Regions from separate parts of the Homo sapiens genome. Here regions 2 and 3 are each linked to region 1. Evidence: promoter capture Hi-C in 16 types of primary human blood cells and fetal thymus (Javierre and others, 2016). All regions are on one chromosome and are shown on one strand. The core of a region is centred on a gene start or on the middle of the fragment in contact, and the rest is flanking DNA. Distances in the headings are between cores, read along the strand shown.

Region 1 (4,926 bases), core at 2,400-4,899:
TGCAAAGACCCTTAGACTTGAGAGCAGACAGGCAGAATGACCATGTCTTCTGTGTATAGTACACCATCACAGTGCACATGGAAATGACATGCTGGTGTATAGTTCCTATTTCTCCCTCATATTTCAGAGGCGGAAGCCCCTCCCAGAAGTTTCCTCTGAGTTCCCCAAAGCTGGATTCAGTGTTCCTATAGCCCTTCGATTCCCCTGATTGTGACATTTACCAGCCTGACTTGGATTCGTCTGTTTCTTTTCCAATATTTCTCACCTGACCTTCCTGAGGACAGAGAGTGGGGGTGAGTCCCTGCCGCATGGCCAGCACCTGGCAAGGTCATGGCAGGAAGGAGGTGTTCCCGATGTGTGTGTGGAATGAAGGAAGGCACAAACGGGTCCGTGTGAGGAAGGGACAGACCTGCCAGGGAAACTGAGGTATAGAGTTTGATGAGTACCCCCAAATCATCTGCTTAAAAGCAGGTATAAAATGTAAGGTCCTCTGGTGCCTAAAGCACACTCATCCTGTGTACACGTGACTATTAATAATATATAGCATTGATAATTCTGTGAATCTAGTCAGAGTACATGAACATTGTGTCTTCTGGTTGGTCTTAAAGTTATGTCCCTTCACCCTAGTCCAATTCCATCTATTAATATAAAGAGCTTGCAGATATAAGGAATAGCTTCACCAATATCACTCCTGAGATCCTGGGCGATGCTGCTCTTGTTGGGACTGATTCAGAAACCAGCCTTCTCTTCTAAACTACATTTCCAGTAGAACATGGTCCATACTTATATGGGAATGAAATCTCACTTAGTTTGAACTCTAGGTCATTCAGTCCCAGAGGTGGTGACTAATGGTCAGGAGATGACAGTATTGCTGGACAAGCATCACCACACTGAGGGGAAAGTTCACGTTTCTAATCCTGAGAAATAATCTGTTAAGAAGCATCACACAGAACCAGCTAGAGGGGAGTGTGAAAGCTGCTGCAGGAAGGGTTCATTCCGCCCAGTGCAACTGAGTGACTAAGAGTAGAGGGTGCTCACAATCAGAACACTGCTGGCACGTGTTTGTCTGGAGCCTGCAAGCTATTCCTCCTTTCTTGCTGAAGAAAAGTGGAGGAAGGGAGGAGCGGGGAGTAGAGTGGTAGGTTCAGCGTGGGATAAAATCAATGGTTTAGAAAATCCACCCATGAGTACGTAAACAATATGACCATAGCAGATACAGCAAATACAAAATTAAACAGCCTTTCATGAAGAAAAAACAATAAGGGCAATTCATGCCTGGCACACAGCAGGTGATGTCTGGATGTACAAATGCAGGTGAAGTGTGATTCAGACAGTGCAAAGGAGAGGTAAGCCAACAGTCACTTCCACTGGCTTCTGAATGAGGATCTGATCAAATCCACAGCATCTTATCATTCAAAATGTGCTTTTAAATTATGTTTTGCTTGGATCAGTATTGAAGCTATTTCAGTGTTATGGTACATCTAACAGCTGATTTTGGAAGGAGGTAAGCCAAAATGTTATTGATGGCATGAAAAGTGAGACAAATTTTAAAATTAGGCAGATTCAGTTTTTAAGTGATTTTCTTGTATACCCATACATCATCTGCACATTAAGCACTTTTCTCTAATTAAGCCAGGGAAAATACAGAGTAATGATAATATCTGTGAGGTCAGCTGTGATCAGAAGTGCCCACAGGCTGCATCTCTTAAAAACAGTCCATGGCACCTCAAGGGACACTGCAAAGACAGTGGCCGGGAATGTAATTGAGCTTTAGGAAATGATTAAAGGGAAGTAAAATCATCTCCAACTCAACATTAATGCGTTTGATTTCCCGGGTGAGAACAGGATTTGCGTAACTGAGTGGTTCTTTCTTTCTACAGTCCTGGATGTTTGGAAAGCCAGCTCTTACAGTTAGCTTTCTTTGCTTTGCTAACATTATCCATCAGAAAATCGAAATGCAAACAGCTCCTATTTCCCAATGAAGAACTTTCTCTGATTTACCTTACCATCATCAGGCTTCACCATCTCACCTTGGAAGCGTTCAATCTTTTGGTCAATATTTCTAGACCAAAATAAAGTGCTCTCAAGCCTGTTCTTTGGAAAGTATTTTGTCATCATTACCAAAGAGTGTTTAAATAACTGGCTATGAAGTTTGGGGAGACTGGGCTGGGAGGTACAATCTGAAGTTAATTGCTGATGTAATCATTAGTCCTTTCAATACCCAGTGGAGAAGCTGCCTCCAGGGAGATAAGCTCTCAATTAGGAGACGTGTGTGTATATCACCAGTTCTCTCTGGCATGTAACAGTTAACAATTTCTATACAGTTAAGTGGATTTAGTGAGTATCATTCTTCCAGGAGAGAAGTAAAATTTTTTTTTAAAGAGGAAAACAAAGAACAAGATTAAGAACAGTAAAAGAATAAGTATGGAAAATCTGGTAAGTAGCAAAAATCATTTTTAAGCATTTGAGGGAGAAACTGCAAAATCTGTTCAGAAGCCACACCTTCCGGCCTGTGGGACTGCATGGCTGTGACACTGAGCAACAGCTGAAGTCTTTATTCTCTCGGAGGGGAAGGAAAAAAGGAAACAACAGTCAGTCCAGGCTTGTCCACGGCTGGAAGCCTCGACTCCTGCAAACCTCCTGCAAACCGATCTCCCAGATCCTTTCTGGGCAAGCACATAACCAAAGGAAATGAAAACTAGAAAAACAATTTGTGCATGGAACAATGACATGGAGTTTCACTTTGGTTTCATGCTCAAATATGAATGTGGTTATAATTTTTTAAAATATATATTAATAGAAGGCAACGAGTTGAGGATGGTGGCTTCTTCAAGCCGGGCGTCCAGAAGAGCCCCACTTCTGCCTTGGAGCGCGCCTTAGGCAGCAGTCGTGGGAAAGCTCAGATACAGCTGTTTCCAGGCAAAGGGCCCAGAGCTTTTCAGCCTCAGCCACCAGGGTCTCCAGACAAGGAGAAATACGCCCAAAGCTGCTCCCAGGGGCTAGGAGCTCGGAGCTCCCAGTGTGGGTCTCTGAGCAGCGCGGGGTGGGCGCTCCCGGCCCTCCAGCCCCCAACTCCCTCGCGCACCCGGGACGGGTGAAGGCGCCCAGCTGCCGAGCATACCCGCGACGCGGGTTCAAATCCCGCCGGCTCCCAGGCACCCTCACCCCGCCACAGCGCGGGCTGTTTCTCCTCCCTTCCCCGGAGGAATTCCTTAACTCTCCAGTACCCATACCATAACAAAGGAGGCTCGGTCCACCAATGCGCGATCGTAGCCTACAGGGACCCCCAACGAACCCCGGCCCAGAGAATGCACCTGGCCGTGCCACGCGCGACCCCCGAGGGGCAGGCGGACGGGTCCAGGCGCGGACAAAGGGGCCTCTCGGGGCGCCCAAGCTCGGGGCGGGACGCCGGGAGCGGAGCTGGCCGGGAACTCACCTTCGCAGCGGCCCGGCTGTGCTCCTCGTGGAGCAGAAGGGCGGCGGGCAGCAGCAGCAGCCAGACGCTGAGCCGGGGCCCCATGGTGGCGCGCCCGAGGCGGCGAGGGACGGCTGCCCGGCGTGCGGGGGCCGCGGCGGACAGCTAGCTCTCGGAAGGCCGGACTTCCAGCGCTACGCACCGTCCCGGGTGCGGCGGCTCCAAGCGGAGACCTGAGCGCGGCGGGCCGAGCTCCCCAATTTGTTGGCGCTGCCCCCTCCCCCCCGGCGGTGCGCGGGCGGCGCCTCAAAGGGGAGGACCCTGCGGCGCGGGTAAGAGGCGGCGGGAGCGCGCGGCCCGGGAGTGTGGCTGCAGTGCGCCGGGACACCAGGGCTCCGCGCTCCGCACTCAAGAGGCTCCCGCGTCCCAACCCCTCGCGCCCGCGCGTTCGCGGATCCAGGCCGAGGACCGAAAGGGGCCGCCCGAGCCCCCGGGGCCGGCGCCCAGAGAGCCCAGCAAGGCCGGCCGCCCTGCCGGTGTGCCGCCGGCGGGTGCTTCTGGAAGGGCCAATGCGTTCGGGCAGCAGCCCCTGAAGCCGAGCCCGAGGTGAGAGCGACCCCCGAGCGGCGCCCAGACCCTGGCCCGAGAGCACCGACTTGGAGCGCCTTGTGCAGGCTAGGGCTGCACGCTCTCCTGCTTGGGAGTAGAAAGGGGGAGGGTGGGAGAGCGAAGACCGAGCTCCTCGGCCAAGGAGCACCCACAGGGGCCTAACGGGAGGCTCTCCTTCTTTCCGGGTCGTGGGGGGGACGGCCCTCCGGTCACCCCTGCATGCGGGCCGCGCACCGCGCTGTCCCCGCGTCTCGCGGACCGAGACCGGCGGTGAGGATGGGCTGCCTCCCTCATCCTGCGCTAAACTCGCTTTGTCTGTCGCCTCTAGGCTAAGTGGGACTGACCGGGGCCCAGAGTGGACGAACCGCCAGCATGGGGAGAGACCAGCGCGCGGTGGCCGGCCCTGCCCTACGGCGGTAAGCGACTTTCTGCCTGGTCCCCGTGGGTCACGCGCGCATGGACCCTTCGGTGTAACTCTCGGGGACTGACAAGCCGGGCCCGCACGTTCACGTCTCTCTTCCTCCCTTTCCCATGCAGGTGGCTGCTGCTGGGGACAGTGACCGTGGGGTTCCTCGCCCAGAGCGTCTTGGCGGTAAGTCCTGGCTCCCGCGCTTGGACTTGCGCGCCCGAGAGTGGTTGGGACGTTTGAGTGGCCTTGGAGAAGGCAGCTCGTCCGTGCGCTCCCGAGTGTGTGTGTGCGTGTGGATGTTCGCCAGGCTGCCCACCAAGGTTCTGAGAAAGCTTGCTCTTCCCTCATCATGCTTTCCACCTTTCCTTCCCCTTGGGTTCCCAGCGTCAATCCTGTGTTTTGCAAGCGTCGGCCTTTCACGGGAACTGGGAACTTAAAATGTAGCCTGAGGCACCGTTTTCGTTGCTTTGGGCAAAGCTGCAGCCGTAGAGGC
Region 2 (4,926 bases), core at 1,754-4,253, 92 kb after region 1:
GTTTTTCTTGAGTAGCCCTCTGGGTTGAATCACCCTGGACTTCAGCTGAGGCAGGGGGATTGTTTTATGCTCAAGAAAGCTCCAGGAGTGGTAGAATCTGGCCATCAAGATGTTCTGTGAAATGGGGCTCTTGTCTTTTCTGGAGAACATGCCTTCTTGGCCCTTTGATCATGAGACATCTCACCACGCCCTCCTTTAACATTGCTAATGATGGGGACTGACCACCCCGTCATTAAACCCCATGGCAGTCTAAGATTAAGCCATTCAGAATCTTACTAGAAATGACTAAGCGGACCGTTTTTTCTTGTGAGGAGAGAATTAAAGGCGTTTCCAATCCCTAATGATAAAACCAGCATCAAATTGTAGAGAATTGCAATTTCTTTCTTACAAACAGCAAATTTTTGTCTCCTTTCATTTTTTAAACTGTTGAACGTGTCAGATGGTATGCATAGAGAGATTTCAGAGGTCTAGTCAATGTGCAAATGTTTTGTGGTTTTATTTTGAGTTTGAAGTCAGAGCACTGAATTCCACAAGGCTTGAGCCTCACTCTCCCTCCTGAGCACCCAGGCTTCACGGACATGACTAATAGGAGTTTATTCACAGCCTGCTACCATCCTTGGTCATAACGTTGCTCAAGGCCCGAGCAGGCCTGCCAAGACCACAGTGTAGCCCTGTTAATATCACATGACCGTCGGAGAGTTTTTGGAAAACCTCCTCTGGCCGACTGTTTATCCGCCCCCATTGATATTTGTCTGAAGATAAGTTATACAGTCTGTTTACTTACAAATGCGTCAGAACAGTCTTGGACTTCTGCACGGAGGTTCTGCCAAATACAAGTCTAACAGGGAAGTGGTTTGGGCAGCCCCGGAACCGAAGAACCCCTCAGAGCATCACAAGCCATCACTCTGGGTCCCTGTCATTTAAATAGGGATTCAGGCTTCAGGTTGTCAGTATTTATAGGCTTGATTGGAGGGAAGTAAGCCGTATGAGCACTTTTTAAATGAATTTTTATTTCTCATTTCCACTTAGTGATGGATGCACATTTTTCCACTAATAAACATTTGAACTTTTTTCAGTTTTTAAGAACATCGTAGGTGGCATATTTCACAATCTTGGCAAGGCAGACGTTTTTGGAGTAAATCGAAACTGGAGGCCAGAAGTACTGGCTCTGAACTGAACTACCACTTGCAAATCGATGTAGCAGAAGGAATAATGGATCATGTGGACCACGCAGAAAGCGATCTGAGACGGGCGTGTCAGCCGCATGTGGATGAATAGTCCTTTGTGGGCAGGAAGGAGAGGGAGTGGGTGGGTATGAGGGCAGGAGAAAGAATCAGCTCTGTGTTTGGGGGCTGTGAGAGGACACTCAGAAGAAGGCTTTTACACCATATTTTATATTCACAAGTTTATTTATGTTATTTTGAGTCCAACAGAAAGAGTCACAAACGTTAAACTTTAGCAACCCCCTAATGATTGGAAAAGATGGGCAAATCCTTGCTTTAAGAGCAGCTGTATCGTATGGAGAAGAAGTCATCTCTGCTGGGAAAACTCGCGAACAGATGCAGGCTAAAGCGAAAGATCAACTCTCCACACCATTACATTTTGAAGGGCTTTGAAGTTATTTTTAGAAAAACTCAAAAATCTAAATCAAAAATCAGATTTTTTCTTTTTTTTTTTCCTACTGCTTCCTTTTCCTTTTTCTTCTTCTCTTGTCCCTTCTCCTTTTTGGTTGTTTCTATTGCTATTTTTACATGTTCCTTTAGGTGGGGGGAAGATAAGGTGTGAAATGTATTCAAGTGCAACTTTTTCAAAATAATAAAATACATGTTTATTATGAGGAAAACTCAACTGCCTATAGAAATGACAACGGTAAATGTAAATAAGCAAAAGATCAGAGATATAAGTGTATAGCCATCACTTCCTTTAGCAATCAAATAATGAGCTGGGCGCAGTGGCTCACACTTGTAATTCCAACACTTTGGGAGGCCAAGGTGGGTGGATCAGTTGAGGTCGGGAGTTCAAGACCAGCCCGGTCAACATGGTGAAACCCCGACTCTACTAAAAACACAAATGGTGTTTTTAGTGTTTTGTTTTTAGTTTAGTGGTTTTAGATTTTAGTGGTGGCAAATGCCTATAATCACAGCTACTTGGGAGGCTGAAGCAGGAGAATCGCTTGAACCCAGGAGGTGGAGGTTGCAGTGAGCCGAGACCGTGTCACTGCCCTCCAGTCTAGGTGACAGAGTGAGACTCTGTCAAAAAAGAAAGAAAGAAAAAGAAAGAAAGAAAGGGAAAGAAAGGAAGAAAGAATCAAATAACAAAAAGCACAGTCAGCATTATAAGATATCAGACATACCCAGCCCAGAGGCAGGGTGGAGTTGGAGATCATCTAGTCCATCAACCAAATCAATTTAGGTTGATTTTTTTTTAACAATTTTTTTTTTTAGCCAAGTCAAAAAAAGTATTTTTAGCCTTACTTATATATAACTGTATCTTTTTTGGCTCACTTAGACCATTTTATCAAAGGAGATCAACCACAAATTCCTGCCGGTTTTTAGTTGTAAGAAGCTTTTTTTATTGGCAGGAAAACTGGGAGAATGTGTAAGTTGTTAAGCAGCCAGGCCACTCTGTGCCCAGTATTCTGGTAACTATTGTGAAGGATGTTTAAGAAGCAGGTCAAAGGAATGAAAGGGCATTGGGGAGAAAGGTGAAGAAAATTTATTGAACACCTATCACATTTTTCCCTCACTAGCTACTTAACTCACACATCCGCACAGGAGCCCAAGGTTAAACCACTTGTCTAGATCACCAAGGAGAGCAAAGATAAAATCTTGTTCCTCCCGTAAGCCCTCAGAGCCTGTGATGTCAGACACCTTGTTGAGAGATAACATTCACAAAACAACCAGAGAACCTTGATGGCCATCATATATTAGTGACATATTCATGCTGGCATGTGGGGCATAAGTGAGCTCCCGTATTGACTTGGTCTGAGAATGAAGAAGTCTAGCTTTACCCATAATGGGCTTTAAAGCAGCTCTTTGAGTTTGGTTGGCCCCAGACCTAAAGTCTTGCATCTCTGAACCACTTTACCTATTTTCTTTCCCACAGAGGACAAAAATAAATGTGTGGAACTGAGCCTAGGTCCTGTGAAACCTTTTATTCTCCAGATGCATAGCATTCCCTTGGTGACACAATCCAGTTTTGTGAAATATATGAAAATATTGGAACTTTTCAAAAATTGTCTAAATTTGGGGGGATGTGCCATGAGAATGTTTAAAATGCAAATTCCCACACAGTTCATCTAATTGATTTTAATCTGATTATGCCTGCCCTGCAGGATCTTCCTGGCAGGAATATGATAGGCCACCTGCTTCTTTTAGGGGAAAACATTCTGTTTTGAGGGTAAGAGAAGATTTGAGTGAGGTTTGCTTTGGTCATGGCTTCTGAAGCTTGATAATTGCAGAAGTTCCATCTGTAAGATGCTCGATTAAAATTCTAGATGAATTGAGTAATCTCCACAAGGCCAAGAGAATCTAATGTTCTTGAATTTGTTCCATATTCACGATAGATCTAGTAACCATGTGTAGTAATCAGACAAATTCTCCAAAACATACAGCCAGCTGGATTCCTGAACTTTAACAAAGTTTTTATGCTGACTGCTTCTGCAACCTCACTAACTAGCCAGCCTAGATAGGAAACTCCCTTCTTAATTCATTCATAAAGTACCTTTTGATATATAGACCCAATCTCTAATAAACCTTTTGGAGATCAATTTGCATATGTGATAAAAGTGAAAAAGTTGGTCTTCAGATACCTACTACAGAAAAAAAAGTGAAAAAGTTCTTAAGCAGATGAGAAATTTAAATAAGATTTTAAGTATTTTCTGAACATTAATTCACCTCTTGACTTTTGAAACTTTGGTCAGACGGAAATGTTCATTCCTTCTCCCTGAAAGAGTTGATGGTTAGATTTCATAACACAGAAGCTAGTAAAGCAAATGCAGTAAGAAAAGTAGCCTCCCATAGGTATTCAAACACGTATTCAAAATTAAGACAGCAGAAAGTCTAAATGTTTAAAATATGCTTCATTAACTTCTGATTCCTTGAATCTATCCCCATTTATTAATGTTTATATAGAGAACCAAAAAAACAGAAAAATTACTATGATGACTATTAATTACATCATTTTCCAAAAGGGGGAAAAATATTGTAATCAATGAAACCTGAATATACTTTTATAATTGATAAGATTAAAAAAGTTGTAATTCCACTTCAGTAACTAAAAGAGTTATTCAGAAGATAAAGCATTTATAATGATGGACCTAGATTTCTGCTTCCTATAGAGATTTCCTGCCCACGTACACATATTCTGGTTACACAGGAAGGCTCATGAGTTGACTACTTTGGCCAGCCTTCTATTTTGTAAGTATTGGCAGAGAGATACTTAAGAAAAAAAATGATTTCATAAGTAAACTTATAATTAAGAGAATGAAGAAGAAGATGTAGCTCTTGGGGCTTCCATTGCCTCCTAACAGAAAACATCTGCTGGACTTCCGGAATTTTCCTAAGACCTTGAGAACACACCCACGCATTTCCAACTTTTTTCCTAACCAGTGAGTTGGCTTCAGCAGTTTTCAGTTTTATAGCTGACTGTCCCATCCAAACAGTTGTTCAGCTTTGCCCTTTATCATAAATTCATTCCCATTTGTTTATTGCATAGTATTGGTTACCTTCTGTTAATTGGGAGGTGGGGAGGAGGACCAGAGAACAAGCTCATAGGTACAAACCTTGTCAAAACTAAAACCTGTTTTGTAGATGAGGATTGGTTCCTTGTATTGTTAGCATTGCCTTTGCTCAAGAGAATCAATCCAACTCATTTTAGTACCATCTGTATCTTTCAAAATGAAGAAGAGTAGTTAAAACAATATGA
Region 3 (4,926 bases), core at 1,764-4,263, 73 kb after region 1:
TACTTGTAATTCAAGGCCCCCGAGGACCTTCCTGAAACCCCCTTGGAGAGTCGAGGCCAGGCCGAGTGCAGCCTCAGGTGTTCTCCTGAGACTGACGCATCCTGCTTGCCTTGGTGAGGCCAGGTTATTAAGCAGATAGATAATTCATTGTGTGCCTAGAAGACATATCCTAAAAGTTATCTTTCTTGCTGAGATATGGAACTAGACCTGTCTTCACTCAGTGATCGTTGATCTTTAGAATGGCCAGTGTGGTTCATCTTATTAAGGGGAAAACTTTAATTTTACTTATTACGTTGAATGTCACTATGTTCAGTTATTGATTATCCCACCAGCTTAGACTTGGGTGGTGAGTGTCTTATACACCTGAAAGCTAGGGTGGGGGTGGGGAGACTTGCTTATACCACCATGCCAGCTGTAGCATTCTGCTCATGGTCACCAGAGTGCATTGTCAGATGTTTCTTGGTTAGGACATCTGCATTCTACATGCAACAGGTGCCATCTCTGCCCTTGCTTGGGGTCAGAGTGCTTTAATCCAGATGCAGTATTGGTTGCATCTGTCATTATCGGCTCATCTGCAGCTGTCCTTCCTGTGTGGTGAGCCTACCCCTCACTCCTGCCTGGTCACTCTCCTGACCCTCCAGTTTACTTTCTGGCTCTGGAGGTGCACTGAGCAAGGGCACACACTCTCCCTGTATCCATCTCCATCCCAGGACCCCGCACATCCCTGCAGCTGCTCCTGGGTGTGCCCACCCCACCCCCACTGGGATTTGAGCTCCCCTCAACTAATGGGCTTTCCATGGGGAATCAGGAGGGTGGGAATTGTGATTCCGTTAAAATCATTTGACTCAGGAAAAGCTTTTCGAAATAATCCCCAAGGACCAACTCTTTACAGAAACTCCTCCCCCGCCTTCATATTTTTGGCTTTGACTATGGGGAAATTCATTATGTTGAGCTAACCTTGGTGAAACAATACTAAAAATAGAGATAATAGAAAAACATGTTAAAGAAGGTAAAATCATCTGAATACGTACTTTATAAAATTCAGCCTAATACTTAATGGCTTTATTCAGACCTAATTTGAACATATCACAAGTATATTTCAACAGAACTTTCTTCTTCACAGAACTTTTCTGGAAAAAAAAGTATACTGTCAAAATGTTTCTCTTATTAGCAATCAAAACCCAGTTTGGAAAAGTGAGTGGTTTGCTCTGAAAAACAACAAACAGGGCTTGTGGGAATTCAACAGAAGAATAACCCACGGCTTGTAAGAATATTAAAACCACGGTCACATTTTACACAGTTTTGGCAAAAGGAATAGCCCAGGCGTCTCGAATCGAGATGTAATGTGAAATGAAGAATTTCAACAGGGCTCATTAGGCTTTTGTTCTATCTGAGCAGAGTTTTCTGCTTTCTTGGCTAAAATAAGATGCATGCAGCTTTAATTGTATCTCCCTTTATTCAAGGTCTTCACTGGCAACCTTAAGTATCAAGGATTTGCTGCTCAAATCATTTGTAAATAAAACTCAGATGTAAGGAAATACAGACAAGGGAGGACAAAAGTTTTGTCCAAAAAAATAGATATGGAACAAATTCAGAGAATTGTAGATATAGGAAGGACCTGATACACTAGCAAGTCTCCTTTCCCAGTTGAGGAAACTGAGGCCCTCCATGGTCCAGAGGTGCGCCTGCGGCCTCATGAGACAGAACCAGGCCCTTTCCTCCGGGTCCCTCGCCTCAGGAGATTCTCTGAGATGGAGAAAGATTCTGGAATTACAGCCAAATCAGGAGGCCTTTTAAGATTGATTTAGGAAGAGCTAAGAGAAAATACTAAATGGAGTTGTTTCCAAGAAACAGAAATAATCAGTGAAATTTCTTTTACAAGGAAATAATTGAAGCAAATGCCCTCTGCATGAAAAGTCGCATTAAAACCCACCCCAGTGGGCACTTCCTGAATGCAGTATTCCCTGCAGACAGCATTTGAACGATACTTAGGAAGCAAACCCTTCGAACCACTGGGAAGAATGTTCCCAGTCTGACCTAGACAGTCCTTAGACAAGGAATTCGGTCCCGCGGTGTATTTCCTTCTCCACAATGTGATCATGGTGGAGAGCTCCACATTGGTGTCGGTGGACACAGTCATGAATGGAAGCTGCTTCATATGAGGCAGAGCCTCCGTGTCCCACCTCACGCACTCTCCGGCTCCTGTAAAGGGGAGATCATGGAGCCGGGGGCATTTGGGCCCCGTTTGTAGTCTTGCCTGGCCCTGACCCATCAGCACCTGCCTAGTTCCGCAGGCACGGAGAAGACTGCACCTTCTGCTCTTAGGTGGCTGCACCAGGGCTTCTTGAAAAGGGGCAGCTTCCTCTCAGGGACATCAGACAAAATCTGAAGGCACTTTTGGTTGTCATACTGTGGAGAGGGTGTTTCTGGCATCTGGTGGGGCACAGGGACGCTGCTACACATCCTATATGCACAGGACAGCCCCGTGAAGAAGAATTATCTGGTGCAGATTATCTGAAGTGCTGAAGGTGGGAGACCCTGGGCTAGAGCAGTGCTCAGCACCCTAAGCTAAGAGGCGAGTACGCGTGCAGGTGCACCCGAGGGAAAGCCTTGCCCTCAGAAAGCCCCTGCAAAATTCCTTGGCATGACCTTCCATCTTGCAGCTCATTTCTTTCATGTACTCAGCAAATACCTGAGTTCCTACTGTGTGTCAGGCTCTGTGTATACCTCAAATTGAGGAGCCAGGGGCGCCGGGCAGCAGTGGGGCTCACAGACTTTTGGCTGCAGCAGAAGCTGCAAGGCTCCTCCCTTCTCATGCACCCCCAAATCCAACTCTGGAGGTGCCGTGTCAGGCGGGTGCACAGACCATGGAGCTGGGGTGCTGGGGTCGGAGTACTCCCCATGGACCCCCATTCGGAAGTGCGGGCTGCTGGGCACATTAGTTAATCTCTTGGCACCACCGTGTTTTATCTCTAAAATGGCAGTGTTGATGAGCCCCCCACTCCCTAGGTGGCTATGCCTGTGCACCCCTAACACATGAGAGCCACGTTAGGATGGTGTCTGGGTCCCTTGTCATTATTTGGGAGGTGCAGCTGAGCTTCCTGGTAGAAGGACTTACTTAGCAACCCGCTCCGCCTTGGAAAGCTGACCCTCCTCCACCTGCCTCCTCTCCTCCACCTTCTCCAGCCCCTCTGTGTCACCAGGCAGCTCTCTCCCGTGTCCCAGTGAGCCCTCCGCAGGCCAGCCTTCCCTTGCAATGGCCTGTGTTGCCAGCTAGTCCTGTTCTGAGAGGATCTGCTCCACTCAAACCGTCCCCACACCTTCCATGTTTGAGCAAAGCATCTGTGGATTGCAGATGAAAAGAAACTTCACCAAAGAGCACATTAGTCATGGCCTCAACCCAGCTGGGAGTGATTTGCATTTGATAACAGCTTTTTAACCCCCAGGAGCCTCTTAAGAGGTGGGTCTTGAAGGAAGTCTTCTGAGAGGCTTTTCTTCTGAGGGGAGGGTCGAACAGAGAATTTTATTTAGACTTTTCTCCCACCAGCATGGACATGAGTTATCAGTATTGTTTATGATTTTATAGAGGAGATTTTCACAAGAGGAACTTTTCCTGTGCCTTTGCCTAATGCATAGTAACTATAAGTCACTTGTTTATACAGCTTTAATGTGTTAACTGTTAAAATTTAAATATTAATATTTTAAATAAGTCTCTATTTGTATACGTGCTGACTCATCGGATTCTCACACTCACTTAGAGATAAGATGGTTTTCTATGCACACACTCACATTAGAAGAATGTAGGGATTTTTTCCATCAATATTCGGGCAAGAGGGCACTAGGAGGCTCATCGAACACCCACAGGGCTCTACGTCACACCCACAAGCTCTATCTCACACCCACGGGCTCTATTTCACACCCATGAGCTCTATGTCACACCCACAAGCTCTATCTCACACCCACGTGCTCTATCTCATACCCACGTGCTCTGTCTCACACCCATGGGCTCTGTGTCACACCCACGGGCTCTATGTCACACCCATGGGCTCTAACTCACACCCACGTGCTCTATCTCACAACCACAGAGCTCTATCTCACACCCACGGGCTCTGTCTCACACCCACGAGCTCTATGTCACACCCACATGCTCTATCTCACAACCACAGGCTCTATCTCACACCCATGGGCTCTATCTCACACCCACGGGCTCTATGTCACACCCACAGGCTCTATGTCACAACCACAGGCTCTATCTCACACCCACGGGCTCTGTCTCACACCTACGGGCTCTGTCTCACACCCACGGGCTCTATCTCACACCCATGGGTCTCTATCTCACACCCACGGGCTCTATGTCACAACCAGAGGCTCTATCTCACACCCATGGGCTCTATCTCACATCCACGGGCTCTATCTCACATCCTCGGTCTCTATCTCATACCCACAGGTTCTATCTCACACCCATGGACTCTGTCTCACACCCATGGGCTCTATCTCACACCCACGGACTCTATCTCACGCCCACCGGCTCTATGTCACACCCACCGGCTCTATCTCACACCCACGGGGCTCTCACGCCCAGCACTCTGGCGTCCCCTTTCCTTGACATCCGCCTGCTCCTCTACCGTAGCCAGATTTCTTTAGGAAAAAAATGATTCTTTAAAAATCTAAAATACTGTAAATCCTATTGGGAAATAACAGTTATTAAACCTCTTCATCAGGAGCCACCAGATATCAACTTAGGCTGTGCATCTTTCTGCCAGGTGGGTCCTTATGACCCTATTAGTGACTGTCTCGCACAACTGGAGATACCAGTGAACACGTGATTGAACTCTCAGCCTCAAGGACAGGTCAGAAAAGGAGCCTCAGGTCAACAATGTGTTCTCGACCTGCTTGAATTTGCATCTGGGAATCCTCCTGTTAGTA

What was found. The method cuts DNA at HindIII sites, captures the fragments that hold promoters and counts their contacts. A CHiCAGO score of 5 or more calls a contact.
Region 2: a contact is called between a fragment that was not itself captured here and the fragment with the promoter of COL4A1 in region 1, in 1 of 17 cell types (endothelial precursors). The highest score is 5.6, in endothelial precursors.
Region 3: a contact is called between a fragment that was not itself captured here and the fragment with the promoter of COL4A1 in region 1, in 1 of 17 cell types (endothelial precursors). The highest score is 6.8, in endothelial precursors.

What each region holds. Positions count from the first base shown.
Region 1 is chr13:110,303,508-110,308,433 of GRCh38, forward strand. It overlaps COL4A1 (collagen type IV alpha 1 chain), which reads right to left and starts at 3,650. Exons shown (of 52, transcript NM_001845.6): 1 at 3,437-3,650. The coding sequence starts at 3,520. It overlaps COL4A2 (collagen type IV alpha 2 chain), which reads left to right and starts at 3,777. Exons shown (of 48, transcript NM_001846.4): 1 at 3,777-4,021; 2 at 4,353-4,440; 3 at 4,562-4,616. The coding sequence starts at 4,397. RefSeq lists enhancers at 3,406-4,239, 4,240-4,926. The HindIII fragment of the contact is 7,261 bases long and covers 1-4,763 here.
Region 2 is chr13:110,396,437-110,401,362 of GRCh38, forward strand. All of the region lies in intron 4 of COL4A2 (collagen type IV alpha 2 chain), which reads left to right. Among named protein-coding and RNA genes, the nearest start is that of MIR8073, 58 kb to the left of the region's middle. The HindIII fragment of the contact is 881 bases long and covers 2,564-3,444 here.
Region 3 is chr13:110,376,762-110,381,687 of GRCh38, forward strand. All of the region lies in intron 4 of COL4A2 (collagen type IV alpha 2 chain), which reads left to right. Among named protein-coding and RNA genes, the nearest start is that of MIR8073, 38 kb to the left of the region's middle. RefSeq lists an enhancer at 2,697-3,647. The HindIII fragment of the contact is 4,321 bases long and covers 854-4,926 here.